Regions from separate parts of the Homo sapiens genome. Here region 1 is linked to region 2. The links are contacts of gene promoters, found by promoter capture Hi-C in blood cells and fetal thymus (Javierre and others, 2016). All regions are on one chromosome and are shown on one strand. Each heading gives the region's core, a stretch centred on a gene start or on the middle of the fragment in contact. The rest is flanking DNA. Distances are from core to core; before and after follow the strand shown.

Evidence for each region. The method cuts DNA at HindIII sites, captures the fragments that hold promoters and counts their contacts. A CHiCAGO score of 5 or more calls a contact.
Region 1: a contact is called between a fragment that was not itself captured here and the fragment with the promoter of SPAG7 in region 2, in 1 of 17 cell types (naive B cells). The highest score is 6.2, in naive B cells.

What each region holds. Positions count from the first base shown.
Region 1 is chr17:5,406,723-5,409,927 of GRCh38, reverse strand. NUP88 (nucleoporin 88) reads left to right here. Exons shown (of 17, transcript NM_002532.6): 5 at 1,019-1,195. Among named protein-coding and RNA genes, the nearest start is that of NUP88, 11 kb to the left of the region's middle. The HindIII fragment of the contact is 236 bases long and covers 1,795-2,030 here.
Region 2 is chr17:4,966,074-4,969,680 of GRCh38, reverse strand. SPAG7 (sperm associated antigen 7) reads left to right here and starts at 1,864. Exons shown (of 7, transcript NM_004890.3): 1 at 1,864-1,961. The coding sequence starts at 1,877. CAMTA2 (calmodulin binding transcription activator 2) reads left to right here. Exons shown (of 23, transcript NM_015099.4): 19 at 1-51; 20 at 161-181; 21 at 344-531; 22 at 700-774; 23 at 862-1,684. The coding sequence ends at 925. LOC124900387 (a long non-coding RNA gene) reads left to right here and starts at 1,968. Exons shown (of 2, transcript XR_007065587.1): 1 at 1,968-3,280; 2 at 3,362-3,607. RefSeq lists enhancers at 110-786, 1-819, 787-1,464, 1,465-2,141, 1,729-2,228 and 2 more and a silencer at 1,639-1,718. The HindIII fragment of the contact is 6,795 bases long and covers 1-3,242 here.

The sequences.
Region 1 (3,205 bases), core at 663-3,162, 440 kb before region 2:
ACAGACATTAAGCACTTCTACCTTAGAGCATTTGCTCTCCACCTCAACTGCTCCTTCCCTAGTTAACCACAGACTTGCTCTCTTACTTCCTTCAGATCTTTGCTCAAATATCTTATCAGAGTCTTTCCTATACCAAGTAGTCTAAAGTAGCACCTCCATCAATACCCTCTTACCCTACTTTATTTTTCATGATATTTTCTGAGTTTATGTTCCATCTTTATTTCTTCTCTTTTTGTGGTATTTCTCTCTCTAGAGGGCAGGACATTTGTTTAATTCACTGACATATTCCCAGACCCTAGAAAAGTACCTGGCACAGAGTAGGTGCTTTGCGAGTATTTGTAGAACTTACGGATCCTGCTGCTCAGAGACAACTGTTGATGTTTTCATGTGTTTTCCTGTTTCCTTTTTGCATTTATGTGTGTGTATATAATAAATTTTTGCTATTTGTATATCTGTGTATTTAAACTATTTAAGATGAGAGTAGAACCAAATAATTTTATGGCCAGCTTTTTTCACTTAATTTCATGAGAATTTTTTTTTTTTTTTTTTTTTTGAGACGGAGTTTCGCTCTTGTCGCCCAGGCTGGAGTGCAATGGCACAATCTCGGCTCACTGCAACCTCCGCCTCCCAGGTTCAAGCAATTCTCCTGCCTTAGCCTCCCAAGTAGCTGGGACTACAGGCACCTGCCACCACGCCCAACTAATTTTTGTATTTTTAGTAGAAACGGGGTTTCACCATGTTGGCCAGGCTGGTCTCGAACTCCTGACCTCAGGTGATCCACCCACCTCGGCCTCCCAAATTGCTGGGATTACAGGCATGAGCCACTGCACCCAGCTGAGAATTTTTAAATGTTAACATTCTTCATAATCATTTTTTGTCTTTTCAGTCCATTGCCTACAAATTCCATACATACCCACCTCCTGTTATTAGACATTTTGTGTTTTTGTTTTGTTTTGTTTTTCTTTTTACTTTTTGTTGTTTTTGTTTTTAACAAGTTGGTTTTTACATCTCTTTCCAGAAGGGCGTATACCGCATCTCTAGGAGAGACAGCAGTTGCATTTGACTTTGGGCCATTGGCAGCAGTCCCAAAGACTCTATTTGGACAAAACGGCAAAGATGAAGTAGTGGCATACCCACTGTACATCTTATATGAAAATGGAGAGACTTTCCTGACATACATCAGTCTGTTACACAGGTAAGTTGAGGTGGTCACCCACCTGAAATGAAAACTCAGTTTGGGCTCCAGTAGATATCATTGAGGCTGGACTTGGGAGCCATGTTTTTGAGTCTGTGGAAATGTTGCAGCCTTCACATGCTTGGCTTGCATATTTTTGAGAAAGAGTTAGTACAGGTCATTTGGCCTTTCATTTCTTCATATTATTTGGGTAAGTTCTATAGAATTCTTGGATAATCACTTATGATAGGCCTGGATTTGTGTTCACAAATTCTAGTTATCCGAACAAGTGCTTATTGTTTATCTTATATGAACAAGACACCACGTAGGCGTGGTAATCTGGTATCTTATGTCCCAGTTGTGGGGAGAAAGATACATACACATGAAAAAATACTATCCATACCACAGTATTGGTACACAGACAGTAAGAACCCCGAGGAAGGAGAGATCATTCTGACTGGGAGGTTAAGGAAATTTTCGTAGAGAAGGAGTGGTGTCATGTGTGACTTAAAGGTCTCATTCAGGATTAAATGAAGTATCAAGGAAGAGTGAGACCATTTCTGTCAAGGGCAGCATAAAGTAGCGTCTGAAAATAAGCAAGTGCAAGTGTCATTCAAGCTTAATTTATTAGACATTCTGGGCTAGAGCTGAGGATTCATGTAGGGAGCATTAAGTGATAAAGCTGGAGTATCTGTCCCGAGAAAATTTGCTGGAATTAAAAATACCTCGTTAAAAGAGTGAGTGTGGGTTTTTTTTCTGTAGGAATAGGGTAGTAGGAAGCCAGTGATGGTTTCTGAACAGAAGGACAAAACAATTGGTTAGGGAGGGGACTGGGACAGAGACTTTTAAAGAAGCTTTTGCAAAATTGAGCTTGTCATTTATGAGAGTTTGAACTTGGGTGGTAATAGAACAGAGGGAAAAATGAAACACAGTAGATAACAACAAAGGAAGGATAAATAAGACTTAGTTACTGTTTGGATAAGGGAGTATGCCATGAACAGAAACAGGTCAGTAAAGGCTGCTAATTGGGGGAGAAGATTTATTTCTAAGTAAATCAGTGTAAGATAGTATTGGACCAATAAAATGGAAATATTCCATGGACAGTTGGAAATACAGGATGATGACAGACAAGAAGAATTAAAATAGAGGTATGAGAATCATCTTTCATGGTGAGAGAGTCTATACAGGATAAGAATTTGAGGGAAAACTGCAGAGGCATAAGGCTAAGGGCTGAGCATTAGAGTTTATTCGCTTGTAAATCGACTTAACAGATACTTATTCAGGACCCACTCTGGCAGAAGATGGAAATACAAGATTGAAGGCAAGGTTCCTGCCATGTGGTTCCTTAACTACCAGAAGGGCATACAACTAAACCAGTAACTATAGTACAGTGTCATGTGCTCAGGGCATCACCGGGTTCTTCAGGAGTGTGATGGAGTAAATGAGTAGGCCTGCTCATCTTGGAAGACTTTAAGGAAATGCTATTACAAAAGCTTGAACTTGAAGGATTCACTAGACAGAATCAGAAGTGGGTACAGGAGAGAGAAGAGAGTACGCAAAACCATAAAGATTAGAAAGATGAAAGAGCTCGGTAGGTTACAGAATGGTGAGGATTCACTGTTGAGTGCATTCTCCTTGGCAGAAATGTTCTCTGCCTTTCACACATGATCTCAGGAGGATTTTGTGGTAACTTTAGTACCTTCCCTTACCCTTTCTCCTCTTGCTGCTGAGCCCTCATTTGTCCAAACCATGATCTGCCTAGTAACGTTAGCCCAAAACCCAAAAGTTTTCTTCATCCTTACATTTCATCAGTCCCAAATTTCTATTGATTTTGTGATTTAAATTTTTCGAAAGTATACACCAAGCTTGTCCAACCCACGGGCTGCGCGCAGCCCAGGACAGCCTTGAATGCAGCCCAACGCAAATTTGTAAACTTTCTTAGAACATTATGATATTTGTTTGCGATTTTCTTTTCTTTTCTTTTTTTTTTAAAGCTCATCACGTATTGTTAGTGTATTTTCTGTGTGGCCC
Region 2 (3,607 bases), core at 615-3,114:
CAGGAGGTAGCAGCAGCTGTAATCCAGCGCTGTTACCGGAAGTACAAGCAGGTGAGACCCTTCTCCCTCAAAAGTGTAACCAGCAACCCACCAACCCACACCCACGCCTAACCATTCCAGAATGTTGCCAGAGCCCTAACTCCCCTTCTCTCTCCACAAGCTGACCTGGATTGCACTTAAGGTATTAGGCATGAGCTCTGAGTGTGAGGTCTGTGATGATTCAGTCTTTCCTTGAGTGTGTGGGTTACAGAGAGTCTTGCATCAGCCTAACTTGGGTGAGCCTCAGGGCTTTGGGTCTCCGTCCCTCTATTTCAGCCCCTGTCCCTCCTCCCCACCCCTGCAGTTTGCACTCTATAAGAAGATGACCCAGGCGGCCATCCTGATCCAGAGCAAGTTCCGAAGCTACTATGAACAGAAGCGATTTCAGCAGAGCCGCCGAGCGGCTGTGCTCATCCAGCAGCACTACCGCTCCTACCGCCGCAGGCCCGGCCCTCCCCACCGGACTTCGGCCACCCTGCCTGCCCGCAACAAGTAGGGCCCAGCCCCAGCCCTCTGTGCCCACCCACTGCATCCACGCCATTCCCCCTTACTCATCCTCTTGATCATCATGCCTCACTGCCATTCCCTGCCTAGGGTTCCTGGGGGGGCCGAAGGCATGCGATGCCTTCTGTGAGGTCCATCTTTTGTTTCTTTCACCAGAGGCTCCTTTCTCACCAAGAAGCAGGACCAGGCAGCCCGGAAGATCATGAGATTCCTGCGGCGCTGCCGACACAGGTACTCATCCCTTCTCCCCCTGGGCTTTTGCGTTGCCACCCGTCGTGATCCGCCAGTCTCCTCTGACTCCTATCTTTCTCTCTGCAGGATGAGGGAACTGAAGCAGAACCAGGAGCTGGAAGGGCTTCCCCAGCCGGGACTGGCCACATGACCTGGCCACCGCCTTTCTCACCACCCTGGGGGCGCCTCGTGCAGTCTTAACAGGGAGAGGGCTTTCTGGGGCAGGGGGAGCCCCTGTCGGCAGCTTTCCTGTTCACCTTTGTTGGAGCCCTCTGTAGGCCTCCTCCCTCCTCCCCACGCCTTGCTCCCACACCCCTCTCCTCGTCCCTCCTGGTCGTGCCCCGTCTCTTTTGGTCCTGGCTCCAGAAAACCCGCGCCCCACATACCTGCATCTTCCGCTGTGACCTCCGGAGCCCTGCCTGCCCCTGCTCCCCAGCTCCTCCTGCCTGCACCCGACTCGGCCCCCTCCTGACTTGCCTTATTTATTTGTTCGACGCGTCTCTGAATGTATCCGCCTCGGTTCCCACCACTGCCTTCGCTGCGCACGCCCCTCGTGTTTCAGGGCTGACCGTGTCCCCACCCGACTCCGCATGTTTGCGTCTGTTTCCTCCCTCTCTGGCCCTGTCTTACCCCATCACCCGACTCTGGCCACTGACCTCAGGGCCGAAGGGGAGGTGGTGTACATAGGAACGCGTTGCGGAGTCCGCCCCGTCCCCCGAGGGGAGGGGTCTTGTACATACTGTAACATACAGAGTATAGTGAAGAATCTATTTAAGGCGCCGCGGGGAGGGCTGCACGGCCGGGCTTGTGGTTCTCTAGCGCGGCGGGGGCCTCCTGCCGGCTCCACGGGCACTTTCTACTTGTGCATGGGCTTGGTTTATACGAATTGCCATTAAACATCGCTGCACCAGCCAGCCTCCGGCCTCTGTCTGCGGGGGCGGGGCGGGGCCTAGGCCAGCTGGAGGCCGCCATGCACCGCGGGCCTGGGATCTGCGCCCAGGCCAGGCGGGCCCAGGGTTTTCCGCCTCCGACGTGTTTCCGGCCTTAAAGGCATTCCGCCCTTCCCTTTAAGACGCACCGCCCCCTCTCAGTCACTCCCAAGATGGCGGACCTACTGGGCTCCATCCTGAGCTCCATGGAGAAGCCACCCAGCCTCGGTGACCAGGAGACTCGGCGCAAGGCCCGAGGTGAGGATCCCAAATTCACAACCGCCTTCCTTCGCCCGGTTCTCGGGACCATACTTCTCCCTCTTTGGACGATGCCGCCTCCTCAACCTTGAAAGACCCCTCACAGGCCCCTTCCGAGACCCTCAGAGTCCCTAAAAGGGCTGCTGACACGCCCGCTGTTCTTAGCGGACAGTGATTGGCTACCTGAAAGATAGCGCCAGCCTCCTGCCTCTTCTCCCGACCCTGGCCTTCCGCAGTCCTTGTTTCCCATTAGCCGGCCGTCCCGCCTGTCCGCTGCTGACCTGGTCTGATTGGTAGGGTGCCTCCAACCTGCCGCATTCCTGCCCCGCTCACCTCTAGCTCTATTTCGATTGGATTTAGGACACGCCATCTACTGTGCCTTCATCTCTATTGGCTATCTCAACTTAAAGCTCTGCCTCCTCAGGCCTGTTCGACCTTCCTTCGAAACCACCCCAGCCTGCGAATTCCCATTGGTTGCAGGGTCCTCTGTGTGTTCTTGCCCCTCCTGCTTAATTTAACCCAGTCCCTTCTGCCTCCCTCCGACAACCTTTTTCCCATCCGTAGCCTTAAATTCCCGAGCTGCCCGGGCGGATCGTAGTGTTGATTGGAGGGATGAGAATACCCGCCGGGTCCGATTGGCCACTGTCTCCGCCTGCGTTCTCGGAGTAGCTTCCCTGCGGGTGGGCTGGAGTTCGGCGGCCGGCGTAGGGCGCGGCCCTGCAGGGCGGTGGGAGCCTCCCCGGGGCTGCTCGTGTTGCAGCTTGGGATGATACTGGCGGAACGCAGGACCCCAACTCCCAAACCTGCGGACCTTGACCACGGACGAGCCCTGTCCCAGCTCCCCACGTGCCCCAGGGGGACCAGAGCAGGCAGGACGCCTTCCAAGTATTCAAGGGCCGCTGGTTGCCTACGCTTCGTCCCCTTGTTTCTTGAACAACCGTTAGGGACCAGGGGTACCCCTCAGGGAGGCCACAGTCCGGGGCTGGGGCGCTCATTGATGCAGTGATCACACGTAAGTTTAATAACCAACTTGATAAGTGCTCTGAGAGAAAAATAACTGTGAGAGCGGCCACCTGAGGTTCTCCCCCAATCTGCAGTGAGCCGAGATCAGAACAGGTAATTCCGTAAATGAGAGAGAGAAGCAAAGCGTTACAGGCAGAAGAGTCTATTTGAAATCTCTGAGAAAGGAGGAAGCATGATGGGAATGGGGAACTGGAATTCTCTAATGCTCCGATGACTGTCTAAGTGGGGGATCACCCGGCATTGACAGACTGGGAAGCTTAAATGAGTCACTCGCCTGAGGTCACATGGTTAGTTTGGTAAGTGGCAGGGTTTCAAACCCAGGTATGACTGGGCTCGAAGCCTATGTTCTTGACCATAATCTTGTGCCACTTCTCTAGATGCAGAGAAGACTCGAAAACCAGTTAAAGAACAGTCAGTGGGGCCCGGCCTTGTAGCTCACACCTTTAATACCACCACTTTGGGAGGCCGCGGCGGACGGATCGCTTGAGCCCAGGAGTTCAAGACCAGTCTGGGCAACATGGAGAAACCCCATCTCTACAAAAAATACAAAAATTGGCCGGGCTCACGCCTGTAATCCCAAAACTTTGGGAGGCCAAGGCGGGCAGATCACGAGATCAAGAGAT